3 separate regions of the Homo sapiens genome follow, and regions 1 and 3 are each linked to region 2. The links are contacts of gene promoters, found by promoter capture Hi-C in blood cells and fetal thymus (Javierre and others, 2016). All regions are on one chromosome and are shown on one strand. Each heading gives the region's core, a stretch centred on a gene start or on the middle of the fragment in contact. The rest is flanking DNA. Distances are from core to core; before and after follow the strand shown.

Region 1 (5,032 bases), core at 2,307-4,806, 190 kb before region 2:
AGATCCAGGGAGTGGCTCCTGCCCCTGGGGCCCTCTCCTCGTCGGAGGAGCGGAGCAGCAATGCCTCCAACGCAGTTCACTGATTAAGAGCTTTGCAAATGCGAACCGCTCGGTCCTCCCCAGTCTCTCTGGGGCTCTCAGGGGGAGAGAATTAATTCGCGTCTACTGAGGTAAGTGCGAGGGGCTCTCGGGGCGAAAAGGCTCCGGCGCGCATTGTTCTCTGGTGGATTACGGGTGCTCGGCCGGCCTTGGGCCACCCCTGCCCGGCTCTCCTGGCGTCCGGCTGTGCCAGGCAGGCCCGCCCGATCCGTGGAAGTTTACGTCTCTTTAATAAAGATTAAGATGTCAGAGGGCCAGCGTTGCACAAAATCCCACTTTTATTAACTTCTCATTACCAGCTGAAGAGCGAAGCCCATTTCTGAACTTCTGAAGCAGCACATTTTCCCCAGGAAGAAAATAGTTATTAAATATGCATTTATGATGACTGCAGCTCACAGGGTTCTTGCTGACTAAGCGACCGGCCGCACACCGCCCTGGATGGACTCAAGACGACGGAGACTTAATGGAAAGAGGGGCCAGGTGGCGTCGCTAGGCTGGAGGGCGGCCCTTGAGTTGGGGGCTGGGCCTGGCCTCGCCCTCCTGGGCTTTATGAGACACGCACCAAGGAACCCTGGGGAGCAGTGCGGAGCCCTGGGGAGCACTGCACGACCGTAAAGGGATCATAGAGAGCGAAGGACCTGGGCACGACCCACTGAGGCAGGGTCTGGGGGCTCCTAGGGTCTGGGCGGTGAGGACAGAGCGTGAGGTGCCAGCTGGATAATGCCTGTCTGGCTGGGGCTAACTGTGACCTCCTGATTAACCACAGTCAGCTCCCATCCTCACCTTCCCAGGACAAACCCAGGCAGCCCCGGGGCAAGAGGGCTGGCCTTGGCTGCAATTTTAGGAGCTCCCAGACCCAAGAGGGGCCTCTGCGGTCTGCTTCTCCCTCTCCCACCAGGACGACCCCTTCTCCTCTTCCCATGAACCTCGGATGGGTCCCTTGAGTCACACATCCCTGCATCTGCCTTCTCCTGGCAGCGAAAAGCAGGCAGGGCAACTCACCTTCCCACCGGGAAGCCTCCAAGTCCCTCCCCAACCCCCTACTGGGACAGGACCTCAGCCCCTACTAGGCCCTTCACATCATCAGTCTCAGGCCCGTCAGGCCTCCCCATGAGCTGTGCCTAGCAGCTTAGCCCTCTAGCTCCTGTCCGTTTTCAGCCCCTTCCCACCCACACCTGCATTCCTGTCCGCTCCCCCTGCACCCTGAGGCTTCTGTCCCAACCGTAAGGGACAAGCTGTTGTCAAGCCATGGTTGCAATTTCTCCGGACCCAGAGCCCTGCTCCTGTCTCATCCCTGTCCACCACCCTCAGTCCCAGTCCTAACAGCCCGCTCGCCTCGGCCTCAATAGGTGGCACCAGGGATTCCAGGGCTGCCTCCCGCCTCCCTGCTGGTCTCCCCTCCCTCCTGGGCCCTGGGTCAGAGAGAGGCTGGGGGACTCAGTGGCTCAGCTCAGGTTTCTCTGTGCTCAGAAATCTGCATCTGTCTGCTTGACCCCTCCTCTGATATCCACCGCCTCCATTTCCATCTCCACTGCCCAGTCCCTTGCCCTGGGCTTCTGGGCTTCCCATCCCTGCCAATGAGCCCATCCCCACTGTCCTTGGACCCTATTTCCATAGCCTGATCCTTCTCCTTCTGAGATGTCCCAAATATGTCTGTTTGTTATCTTCTGTTCCATCCTTGTCCAAGCCCCTCTGCCCTTGGCTGTCTGCAGCCCCCTCCTGTCAGCACCCCAGGGACTCACGCACATGGGACCTGCAAGCCCCCTCCACGCCCCTCCCCTGCCTCCCTCCTGGCCTGGGGTCCTCAGATGCCCCTCCACGCCCCTCCCCTTTCCTCCCCTCCTGGCCCGGGGTCCTCGGGTGCCCATCTACACCCCTCCCCTTTCCGCTCCTCCTGGCCCGGGGTCCTCAGATGTCCCTCCATGCCCCTCCCCTGCCTCCCTCCTGGCCCGGGGTTCTCAGATGCCCCTCTGCGCCTCTCCCCTTTCCTCTCCTCCTGGCCTAGGGTCCTCGGATGCTCCTCTATGCCTCTCCCCTTTCCTCTCCTCCTGGCCTAGGGTCCTCGGATGCTCCTCTATGCCTCTCCCCTTTCCTCCCCTCCTGGCCCAGGGTCCTCGGATGCCCCTCCACACCCCTCCCCTGCCTCCCTTCTGGCCCGGGGTCCTTGGATATGCTGCTCCCTCCACCTGGAAGGCTCAGCTCTGCTCCATATCCTGCTCCGGCTCAGCCTCATGGACTCCCTTAAGGCCCCTCCGCAGAGAGGCCCCAGGTCACACAGCGCCCCATTTTCGGACTCCATAGCACCTGTTATTGTAACTGCTCGTGTCATTGCTATTTCTCTGCTTTTTATTCGCTTCTTCCAGGGGATGGTGGGCTCTGGGGAAGGGCCTGACTGTTCACAGCCTTGGCCTTGGAAACCTATGCTCCCTAAGCTTGTGGAAGATGGCCAGGAGTCTGCTCAGCTGCACAGTAGCTTTGGGCAAAGTCCTGCCCCTCCCTGAGCCCTGGAACCCTCGGATGAAGTGGGGGTCACAGAGAGGGCGAGTGCCCGTACAGGAGGCTCCAAGAGGCGTCGACTGAAGGAAGGACCCAGCAACCACAGAAACAAAGGAGTGAGTGAATGGTGCCGCCATACCCCCACCTGCGCCACCTGCCCAGGGGTCGCTTTTCTAATGGGTGGCAAAGGCTTCTCCTGGCTTCACGTTCCAACTATTAGATGAGACACCTCCTTTGGTATCCATCTTGCCGTCCAGGCAGCCTCCCTGGAGTTGTGGTCAGGGCTGTGAGGGCCTGGAGGAGCCCAGTCAGGTCTGGCATCTGCAGGGCAGCATGGGCAGGAGCCAGCAGAGAGCTGTGGCCCGGACATATGGGCCGTGTGCCTTGGGGAAAGTTCCCCATGGGATGGAAGAGCTCAGGGACTCTGGCAGCCTGTGCCACTGTTGGCTGCATTCAGGCTGGGCTCTTCTGGGATCTCTGTGAGTGCGATCCCAGTGAGTGGCCACCAGGACAGATGCCCAGGGACCACTAGACAGGGTTAGGCCCCCCAGGGTTCCCACCACCAACAGGTGGTCTCATCTAGAGCAGGCCTGCGGGGGGCCCCACGGGAGAGCGGCACGCTCTGTCTACTTGGGATGGCCCCAGAATTCTGGTCTACCCCTCATATTTCTGCACCTGGGGGTGAGGCCTTTGACAAAGCCGGGCGGGGCGGGGAGAGCCTTAGACACAGTGTCCCGGCCCTCAGCCTCAGCTCACCGTGTTCTCAGGCCAGGCTTTCCCATCCCCGGGCACTCAGAGCAACTGAGGACAGAAATGGAAGAGGCTGCTGGTGCCTGAGACCCGTGCGGGGTGGGAGGGGCCGCCAGGCAGGCTGCAGGGTCTGTGGAGCCCCTGGGGTACACACTGAGCCATCACCAACCAGAGGCTGCATGCCCAGAGGAGCTGGTGCCCCTGCGATGCCTCATCCGCCGGGGCACCTCCATCTGAAACAGACCCTCTCTATGGCCCTGCCGGAGGCACAATCACTCACTCTCAAGGATCCAGTGCTTGGCTGTCACCTGCACCTCCCAGCACCGTCGCGGCAGCACACCGCAGGTGTCCTCCCTGGGACCCCATGCGCGCACACCCTCGTGTTGTCTGTGTGTTGTCATTACTGCACCCCGCACCTCCCAGCACCATCGTGGCAGCACCCCGCAGGTGTCGTCCCTGGGACCCCATGCTCGCACACCCTCATGTTTTCTGTGTGTTGTCATTACTGCTGTCATCGTCACTGAACTGCCTCCCCCACTAAAGAGCACATGTGTGTCCTGTGGGATTTTTCTCTGTGGGTTCTTTTCAAGCTGCACCCCTTCCCCAAAACCCCTCAGCAAGGACCCCATCCCTCCAACTTCATCATCTGGTTTTGAGGAGAGGAGTGGCCAGGAATAGCCTGCAACCAGGAGGAGATGGGGGACACAGAGGGAGGGGCTCTGGCCAACCACGCCTCCCGCCAAGGGTGACACTGTGGATCCCAGGCTCTTGAATGAAGCCGGTTCCTTGGGGGCCCCAGGGCAAGACTCCTGCTCGGTCTGGTTGAATTTTTCCCGCTGGCTGGCTTTGCCTTCAGATGGACTCCTGGTGACTCACAAGTGTGGGGCTGTCCCTCAGATTCCCATGTTACCAGAATAATGTGGAGTCCCTGGGGGAAGGAGGGAGCCCTTGGTCTTCAGAGTCCAGGGACGCAACTGGGTCACAAATGCACGTTAATGGATCAAACAGGAGCCTCATGTCTGTGCTTAGCACACAGAGCCAGAGCACCTGGGTTCAATGCCCCTCACTGCTGTGTGATCTTCGGCAGATTACCGAACCTCTCTGTGCCCAATTTCTTCACCTGTAGAATGGGTACTACTTGCTAAAAGCACAAGTGCCTGAGGGCGCATTAGTCAAATAAACAAGCCGACTGATTTTTCAGTCCTTCCCTCTGAAAGTACCTGTACTGGAAGCTTCCATTCAGCTCCAAGGGCAGCAGAGCAGGTGGCTTAGAAAAGGAAAGGAGACAGGGTGGGGGGTAGGATGACAGCTCTTTCCTTTCTCTTCCTATTGCCTCATGGCCCATGGGACCAGGAGCTGCACAGGCTGCAGGCCAGACAACCTGTCAACTGAGCAAACCTGGTCCCTGGGGCACGTTTCTGAACGGAGCCAGGATGGAGGGTGGGGACCAGGACGGAGGGCGGGGCAGGCTGAACGCCAGTTCTTTCAGGAGGCAGGCTGCCCTGACACAGGAGGAGTGGAGGAGGTCCCTGGGGGTCTGGCTCCAGGGGTATCTGGGCAGGTCTCCCCCAGGAACCCAGTTAGGTGGGTCTGGTGTGTGCGTGGGCTGGTGGGCAATGCCGTGTGTACAGGTCATCTACCCGGCCCCCTGGGTTCAATGCCTGTGCTCCAGGGCCTGTTTGCCGGA
Region 2 (4,654 bases), core at 1,433-3,932:
CAAACGAAATTACACCTCCAGATGCACACTCGGCGGTGGCCCCCGAAATGCTGGGTCATGGGGTCACCTCCACTGGCCTGGTTGCTGTTCTGTGCCCAGCCTGAATACCAACCTGGTAACCATGACCTTGCCCCTGCCCAACCCCACAGTCCCCTGACCTGGTCAGCATTGTGGGGAGGGGAGGACCTGCTGGCTGGAGTGCTGGCCCTACCGCCTCTGACTCGGGTAATGGACTATGGTCCCCGGGGAAGTTCACATCTGCTTAAAATATCGCCTGATGAAATGAAATTCTTCAGCGGATCCTGCCTTCTTGCTCAGGGCAGGCAGTGTGATCCTGAACCTGCCTCAGCCACCTTGGGGGGCCTGGGACAAGCGGTCCCAGCTGTGGAGCCTGGAAGGAGGGGTTCCCAGCGCTCGGCCAAGTGTGGACAGAGGGCCGAGGCCTGGCAGTCACCTCTCATGGGGTTTTTCCTCACTAAAGACTCTCGGGAAAAGGAAGCCAGCGCTCGGCGCTCCCGCTGGGCCCGGCTCTCCGGCCTCCTGGCCAGATGGCTGCCAGGCACCACTTCTGGTCCTGAGCGGACCCGGTCCCGGGCCACCTTCCCCACCTGGCAGAGGTGGAGCCGGCGGAGAGCTGGGGCCTCTCGGAAGTTTCCAGGGCCGCGCGGGTGCGCCGAGTCCGCCTCTCGCTTGCAGCGAAGGCCCCGGCGTCAGCGCGGCCGGTTTCCCCTTTCTCGTTCCAGCTTAGGGCCCATCCTGGGCGAGGGCCTGACCTGGCGGCCCACACGCAGCCCGGTGGTCCCGACTCTGAGCAGGCCCGCGGTGCACACACAGAACCGAACCCGAACACGCACACGCACACCCCACGCGCGGAGGGCCCGCAACGCCGCGCACAGACAGCCCCTTCGCGTCGGCGGCGAAACGCCCGGTCTTGTTCGCACCAAGAGGGGTCAGAGGTCACGGGAGGCCGAGGCCGAGGGCACCCGGCAGCGGAGCGCGGCGGGAAGGGGGCGCCTCACCCAGGGGCCGGGAACGGCCGATGGCGGGGCGCAGGAGCGTCCGGCACAAACTCGGGAGCTGCTTTTCCCTGGTGCACAGAGCGCGGGGCCTACGGCCGCGGGGCAGCTGTTGGGACGAGCCGGGCGGGCCCCGAGCCGAGGGAGCGGAGCTTCGGAAAACCGCCGCGAGTCCCGCGCGCACCCGGCTCACGTTTGGGGGCTCGGCCCCGGGAGCTGCGAGGCCGGCCTGGAGGGACCCGGCCCCGGAGGCGCGGACGGAACGGCGTGGGTCGGGCGGGGACCTCGAGGGGAGCGGCCCGGGCGCCTCTTCTGCGGGTGGGCGGGCGGGCGGCCTGCAGAGGAGGGGGCGGCGGGAGCAGGCGGCGCCGATTCCGCTCCGCGCGGCGCTGGCCGCTTCGCTGCAGCCGGGGCTTCGGCGGGGCTGCGGGAGCCGCGCTGGCCGGGCCGCGGCTCCGCCTGTCCTCACCTGCCCGCCCGCCTCACCGCGGATGGCGCCGGCGACCGGGGCTGCGGGGTGCGCGCGGGCTGCTCGGAGGCGCTGTGGCGGGCGAGGGCGCGGGTGGCTGGAGCACCCGGCCCGCGGCAAGGACCGGCTGGCGGCAGGCGGGGCGCGCGGAGCCCGGGGCTCGGCCGAGACGGAGCGAAAGAGAAAGTAAGACCGAGGACCGGGCAGCCTGGCCGGGGCAGCTCTGTCCCCGCCGGGCCCGGCTGTGCCAGGCAAGCGGGTACAGAGGGGTCCACGCGGGCCCGAGGGCGGCAGCGGCGGGTCGGGAGGTGGCCGGGTGGGTCCCTCCTGTCGGAGGCACTGTCGCCCCGGCGGCCCGCGCAGGCTGCCGGCGTCCCAGAGGAGCGCCCTCCACCACGCGGGGCACAGCCGGGGATAAACTTCACGACCACAGTTCCCAGCCCGGGCAAAAGTCTCCATTTTGCTCCCCAAGTGGCTGCGGCTGTCCCGCCGTCGCCACCCCTGCCCCTGCGCCCGCGGAGCCGGGTGGGCGCCGGCCCGCGCCCCCTCCTCCGCCCCTCCCCGGCTCGGGGTCTCCCTCCTCTGCGCCCGGCTGGCGGACGCCAAAGGCGGTGCTCTAGCGCCCACTATTTCAAAAGCCCGGAATATGATTTGACCAGGACTGAGAGCCACTCGGAGAGAGAGAGGGAGAGAGCGAGCGGGGAGGAAAAAGTTGCTCTCCCCTTTCGTCAACTTTTCGCTAACTTTCACTTTTCGCTCCCCTCCACCCCCGGCCCTCCCCCTCCGCCCCCCTCCCCGGCCCCCACCGCGCGCCTCGGGTTCCCGGGCCCGAGCGCCTGACACTGGTGGGGGGGGAGGGGGTTCCGCGGGGAGGGGGCCGGCGCCTTCGGGGAGCGCGCGGCCCGGGCGCCCCGAGCCTCCGCGCCGAGCCCGGTCGCCCCGGAGCGCGGGAGGCGGAGCAGCCCCCCGGGCCGCGCGGCCGAGCCGGGGGCCCGGAGCCGCAGGCGCGCCGGCCGCGCCCCGACGCGCACCCCTGGCCCGGGCGCCCCGGCCCGGCGGCCCGGGCCCCGGCGGCGCGGCGCGGCCGAGCGCGGGAGACTTACTTTTGGCTAGCTTCCTCGCCCTCGCCTTGGATCGCATGGTGTCGGCTCGCGGAATCTCTCTCCTCCTCCTTGAGTCCAGAAGCAGCCACACACTATCTTCATCTCCCCAGCATTGTCAGTTTGGACACCTTCGCACATGCGCACAGAGCACTCAATCTGACACCCCTCGCCGGGGCCAAAAAAACTTTGCAATGTATTCATCATCCTCATCGTCGCGCCGCCGCCGCCGCCGCCGCCGCCTCGGCGCGGGATTGGGGGGCTCTCCTCGGCCTTCTCGGTCTTCGTCTCACTTATCTCTCCCCCCTCTCCCCCCCCCCCTTTTCAGCGCAGCTCGGAACTGGCCCTTTAAGAAAACATTCCGTGTTCGGCGCTCCCGCCCGGGGCCCGCACCCCGGACACTTTAAAAGGACCCAGGTGGCCCCGGAGGCGAGGTGACTATCCCCCCACCCTGCCCCTGCGTCGCGGCGCGTCGCGCTGCTGCTCCCGCCCCAGCCGGGGCCGAAGATGGGGCGGCGGCTGCGGTTTTCCACACGACTTCCTTGGATCTCGGGGCACACGCGCCGATAGTTCGGACGCGAGTCCGGGCTGGTTTTGCTCCGTTTTACTGCGTTTGATTACTAATTTAAAAGCTTTGCGTTCCCCGTCGCCCCGGCCCGCTTTTCTCCTGCATTCTCCCCTCGGCCCCCGTCCCCGCCCTGCGATCGCTGGAGGGGGCGTCGGGGCTCGCGCGCCAGAACCCGGCTCCTCCGAAGCCCCCTCCGGGCCCCACCGCCCCCCTCGCGCCTCCCGGCCCCCGCCTCCTCCCCTTCGCCCCCACCCAACGGCTGCTGCTTCGGGCTTCGCGGCTCAAAAACAACAGCGGAGGCGCCGCCAGCTCCGCGCTCCGCCACTGCCCAGGCCGGCGGGCGGCACTCGGACCCGCCGCCCTCGGTCCCTCGCGAGGCCACGGAGGCCAACACGCCTCGCACGGGGGGACAGCGCGGGGGCAGCCGTCCAAACACCAGGCGTCCTCGGCTGGTCGTCCCAGGGCGCCCGCACCTCTCCGCCCGCGCTCTCCTGCCGCCGCGCCCCCAAGGTGAGTACCCGGCTGCGCGAGCGCCCGAGCTGGGCCACCTTCGGGGACCCGGGCCACTGGGGACACTCCCCTCTGGCCTCTCGGGGCCCAGGTGCGTAGCGGGCGGAAAGGCCAGCGGCGCAGGTGGAGCAGCTCGGACGGGAGCCGACCAGACGCTTCCTCTTCCCCTGTAGCCCCCAAACTCCGAGGCGCTGCGGCGGAGGGGCCGGGCTGAGCGCAGGCAGGGTGGCCCGGGCCCAGGAGCCTGACGGCCTGAGTGCGGATTTCTCATCTGAGTATCTGGGAATCGAGAATGAATTGGAAGGAAACCGAGGCGCTGCCCTGGCCAGGTTGCTGCCCCGCACCCTTCCGGAGCACCGAAGTCCTGCCCGGCAACGGGACTTGGAGCTGCCGCAGAGTCAGCCTGAGCCCGAGGCAGGGGTCGCGCCCGCGATGCGGGGTCTCTGCGCCGCCCCGCGAGGCTCCTGGCCTTGCCCTCCCTGCCCTTTGTTGTGTAATAAGACCTGTGGCGGCTCCACTGAGACCCACACGTGCAACTCCGCGCCTCCGCGTTAAAGGAGGTGAAACGCAGCAGCCCTGAGAAACCCCGAGACCCCGGTGTCCTAGCAGAGGCGCCCCGGATGGGGAGGGGCGCGGGGCCGGCGCCACCCCAGAGGAAAAGCCCAGCGGAGCCGGGTTGGGCAGGAGCTGGCGGCGGCGGTGCGCTGGGCCTTCTGCCTTGGATCCTCCGCGGTCGGCACCGCTTCCCTGCTCAGATTCGAACCCAGATTCGGCTCCCAAGGCTCCCACGGCTCCAGGGTGCCCAGTCTTGCAGCCAGCTCGCCGCCCGAGCCCCGGATGGAGGAAGCGCTCACTGGCCGCTACCTCTGCTGTTTCTGGCACCAGGTGAGTGTCGCCTAGAGAAGGGCCATGAGCAATGGCACAGCCCCATTCCCTGCCGTCCTTTCGAGGGTCTATCGACCCCTTTACCCACCCTCCCCACACCCTGACC
Region 3 (4,482 bases), core at 1,550-4,049, 180 kb before region 2:
CCCTCCATCTCTCCAACCACATCCCCTCCCCTCCCTACCCCTGCCCCCTACTCCCTTCCTCCCCAGCCCTCCAGCCTCCTTTAGGAGGAAAACAATACAAACAGAACACAGTGAGCCACAGGACTGGACACCGAACAGCAGTCTCCGGCTGCGTGGTGCTGTGCTGGGCTAAAAGCCTGGCATGGCCAGGAACTCGGTATATCCTGCTCACAAACTGCCTGGAGTCCCAGCGAGGTCCCAGCTGCGTTTAGACCTCAGGGTGTGTGGCCTCCTCCAGTAACTGCTGCACAAAAGACACTTAGCAGTTGCCTGTCTGTCTCGCTCCCAACTTCCTGGGCTCAGCAGCCATCCTTCATTAGCCCCCAGTCCCCACGGGAGGGACCCAGGAAACCTCTGGACTCCTCGTTACCAGAGGCATTTTGCCCGGGCCGGGCTATAGAAAACGCCCACAGAACAGCCCAGTGGGACAGGCCATGGTTCTAACATCCAAATAATCATTTCACAAATTATCGTCATTATCAATCAATCACCCTGTTTGGACAATGCAAGGCTGGGCTATCAGACGACTTTTATGACCTGTAGCATTTTGTACGTAATAATAATAACCGGGAGAGATTTATGGACCCATCACCGGCCCCTCTTCCGGCGGAATGACTTTATTAGCTCGATTTATTTTTGACCCTCCTCTAAGCCTCTGCACTCCCGCCCCTCGCCCTAGGGGCTGGCTGGGGTGGATGCGTTTTTTCCGAAGCTTCTGAAGGGTTTTTTTTCCAGGTCCCCAGGCCTAGCCCTCCCATGCGAATTCACGATGTATTTATTTTTGGGAGGAGGGGGATAGAGAAGCGGAGGGGAAGAGAAAATAAAAATAAGAGAAAAGGTCACTTCCTTTTGTTTGTGTTTTCCCGTTCTGTATTAACACGTCCTTCCTTTTCAAGAGGGGGAAGGAAAACACGATAAAGTGGACAAAGGGAAAGGCTGCCGGGCCATGTTTCCCCTTTCATATCGCCAGAGATTGAATCAAAATTCTTTCAGCTGATAGCATCTCCCGGGTGGACTACACTCTTGTTAACGGATAAATTCAAGCCCTCCAGAAAGTCAAAGAATAAATTTAAGCCTTTTGCCAAATGTCTATCCTATTGGATTTTGATAAGATGGCCATTGAGCCTTAATAATGTCTTCCATCCATTTTCAGCGAGCCCTTAACACGGCTCTTGATTCGTCCCCAAAGCCTCTTCGCCCGGCCTTTTTATTACCGGCTCCGGCGGGCTCTCCAGGGAGCTGCGCGCCCGGAGTGATGGATGGACAACTCGCTAGATTATCTCCCGCAGATGTTTGCTCTCCAGGAGCCCCCGGGCTTTCCCTCTAAGTAAACAGAGACTAAATAGAGAGTCCGCTGGAGGGAGCGGTCCCAGAGGTCCCCGCACCGCGGCCAGGAAAGGCGCGACGCAGCCCGACCCACAGCCAATGTGACTTTTTGGGAAGCGCCGGTGACGCGCGCCCAGGGCGCACCAGGACGGGCGCAGGGACGGCGAGGGCACGCATAGGGCACCAGGGCGAGCGCACCAGAGCGAGCGCGGGCCAGCGCCAAAGCTCTGGGCTGCGCGGGCGCAAGGGCTGCGGAGTGAACGAAGGCGCAGAGACCAGGGTGTGAGACAGAGGGAACGCGGGAGTCCAGGGCGAAGCTGAAGGGGCGCAGGAAGGACGGAGGAGGACCGTCCCCTGCGCCTGGCGGTGGCTCCGCCCTCCTGGGGTGGGGGCGGGGCTAACGGGAGGCACCTCTGTAGCGCCCACAGGAGCCAGGCCCCGCGCCACAGTCCTGAGTTCGAATCCCAGGCCTCCATACAACCCTCGGCCCGGCCGCCCTCGCCTGTAAATTCTGAGTAGAGTCATCCTGCATCCAGCCTCTTCAGAAACCTCACTCTCTGATACTTAGAATTCCTAACCGTGGCTTCCTCACAAAATACCACCTTTTCTGCAGCTCATATGCCAAGCTGCTGATTGAATTAATTAACTTCGTCACATTTCACTGAGGCAGATAAAGAACAGGAAGTGTAATCCTCCCAGAGGTGGATGAACTGAAGCCAGACACAGGAGTTGCCCACCCACAGGTCACACAGCCACCCCCGTCATGTTCCCCTATGAGGTTTTTAATGTTCCCAAGTGTGCCTTTGGGTGACCCAAACTACAAAACCCCTAAACCAGAGTTCTCATCCTATAAGGAAGGACTGTACTGAATTCATCCTGAAAACAGCACCGCGGTGCGCACAGTTACGGCAGCAATCCACACATCGCACCTATACCAACAGCTCTAAGTGGCGCATTTGTTTGCAGGGTGGGGTCTCCGTCTGGACTGACGCCCACTCGAGGGCTGTCTGTCCTGGTCTTCCTGGCCCCCGAGTCTGAAGACTTTGCCTTTGAATTTTAGCTCATGTCTCTCAGTCTCTCAGCCCCAACCCCCCCGGCTCCCCGAGAGTGCCTAGAAATGTAACTGAACGGGTCCAGTCTGAGCCCTGGGGTTAGGGATCTGATTCTCCCACCAGCATGGCCTTGGCAAACACTCGAATCCTCCAGACGCTGACGGTGTTTATTGCGGAGGCTGAAAAAACTATGAGTTGATGGCCCAGGCAGTGCTGTGTGGCAGCCTCCCCCTCTGGTGGAGCTGTGCCTGAGGACTTGGGTGCCTCCTCCAGGCAGCCCCCAGCCCCTCGGACTGGGCCTGCAGGGCAGCGGCAGGGAGGAGCCCTGGGCTGGGGTCAGGAGGCCTGCTTGGACAGGACCGCCCACCAACGCCCCCGATGCTGGCTCTGGTACCCTGCGCTGAGCTCCCTGCAGTCGCGGCGGTGCCGTGGGGGGTCTCGTGCATCGGGTCTGCTCTGATTCCGTGGGATGGCGGAACCTGAGACTCCTCAGCCCGACCCAAGGTTCTCAACCTGCTTTCCAAGGGCCTGCGTCAGAGGGATGCCTGCTGCCCTGGGCACTTGGAAGTAGGCCCCTGGCTGGACAGCATCTCATGCCCACCCCGGGAGCCGCTCTCAAGAATGACCTTGGGCCACACTGAGCGAGACCTAATGGCCACACATATAAGACACAAAGGCAAACCCACCGTGGCCCAGAGGCACAGAAGGCGGCGCCCACTTCACCCTCCTTCTGTCCTAGTTCGTTCTGGTTCAGAAGCAGCCAGCACTTGCCTCCCCCGGGCCCTTTAAATCTAGACTTGACCTTTTGACCTTCTGACTTGACCCCTGTTCCTAGACCAAGCAACCCCTCCCAGCATAAACTGATCCCCTTCTAACCTCCTGCCAGGCCACCTCCATGAGGCATTCAGGAGAGGCGCAGCCAAGGAGGGCGTCTTGAAAATGTCAGACGGTCCAGGGACGCATCGGGGTGGAAAACCCAGTGATTTCAGGCTCCCTCGAGAACTTGAGGGATTCGCACTAACTGCAGGTCACTTTTTGTGGGAAGTGAAAATACTGCAGTTCTCGGAAATACAGCAGCGCTGCTAACTGTTTCCTGCTCCTCTATGTCCTTTAAGAAAATGTGAACTCATTTAAAGAGGCAGGAAAGGAGAAAGAGGGAAAGTGGAAAAGACCAGCCCTGGAATTTGCTCCATTTGCTCCAGTCAAACGTGGGTGCAGGAAGACCTCAGGCATCCTGTGGACGGCGGGGACTGAGAGCCGACACCTTGTCCTTGGACAAAAGGACCCCAGGAGGCCAGACACAGCCACACCAGCGACGGGGAGGGACACGGGAACCAGTTCACCCAGTTTCCGGAGGCCCTTCAGCGGGTCACTGCGGGCCCAGCAAAAGTCTCCATTGCCATGCTTTCTCCAAAATCAATGTATCTGGGGTTGAACCTGGAGAGAAGGGTCAGGTCCCCCTGTGCTTTGCGGATAGCTCTGCCCAGATGGTGGGTCCCCTGTCCCTCGTAGGCAGCTCTGCCCAAATGCCTCGGCTCAGAGACTGGGAGTTTGGCAGGACTAGCACAGCACTTTCCTTTGACTTTGGGGGAAAAATGGAGTATTGATGACTTGAACACTCAGCTCAGCTTCCTAACCACAAGGCTGCCAGTACCCCTCAAGCCCATATGCTGCGTCACGGAATCCAGTTGTAATTCTGACAGAATTGTAACAGCACTCGGTAGGCACTGACTCAGCACTGGCTCCTCTGTGCCAGCAACCCCCATGGTGCACCCCGCCCCACCCCGCCCCCTGCGATGCTGTCTGGGTGGGGATGTGTAAATGTGACTCTCTCTAAATTTTATCTTGCTTTAAAGCAAAGATGCCAAGCGAGAGACTGTTACTTTAATTTTACTAGAAACCCCCCCCCAAAAAATAGGAGATCAGCCACCACGTGTGAGCGTGCTGTGTCTGTGGACGTCTGTGTGTGCGTGCAGGCAATGCATATCCCGTCGAAGAGGAGTTCTGGCTGCTGAACAGGTTCTAGGTTTCGGAGCTGCTTTCCAGGCCATTCCTCCTCCTGGCC

What was found. The method cuts DNA at HindIII sites, captures the fragments that hold promoters and counts their contacts. A CHiCAGO score of 5 or more calls a contact.
Region 1: a contact is called between a fragment that was not itself captured here and the fragment with the promoter of PRDM16 in region 2, in 1 of 17 cell types (megakaryocytes). The highest score is 7.4, in megakaryocytes.
Region 3: a fragment that was not itself captured here is called in contact with the fragment with the promoter of PRDM16 in region 2 in 1 of 17 cell types (megakaryocytes); the score reaches 5.0 in megakaryocytes.

Annotation. Positions count from the first base shown.
Region 1 is chr1:3,261,548-3,266,579 of GRCh38, reverse strand. The region is part of intron 3 of PRDM16 (PR/SET domain 16); the gene reads right to left. Among named protein-coding and RNA genes, the nearest start is that of MIR4251, 140 kb to the right of the region's middle. The HindIII fragment of the contact is 2,046 bases long and covers 2,534-4,579 here.
Region 2 is chr1:3,067,231-3,071,884 of GRCh38, reverse strand. It overlaps PRDM16 (PR/SET domain 16), which reads right to left and starts at 2,682. Exons shown (of 17, transcript NM_022114.4): 1 at 2,589-2,682. The coding sequence starts at 2,625. It overlaps LOC124903827 (translation initiation factor IF-2), which reads left to right. Exons shown (of 5, transcript XM_047436614.1): 1 at 1-1,671; 2 at 2,914-3,663; 3 at 3,837-4,548. The coding sequence starts at 22. The coding sequence ends at 2,937. PRDM16-DT (PRDM16 divergent transcript) reads left to right here and starts at 4,160. Exons shown (of 6, transcript NR_015440.1): 1 at 4,160-4,548. It also overlaps the pseudogene LOC100420339. RefSeq lists an enhancer at 3,789-4,363. The HindIII fragment of the contact is 3,548 bases long and covers 1-3,219 here.
Region 3 is chr1:3,244,790-3,249,271 of GRCh38, reverse strand. All of the region lies in intron 3 of PRDM16 (PR/SET domain 16), which reads right to left. Among named protein-coding and RNA genes, the nearest start is that of MIR4251, 120 kb to the right of the region's middle. The HindIII fragment of the contact is 4,092 bases long and covers 754-4,482 here.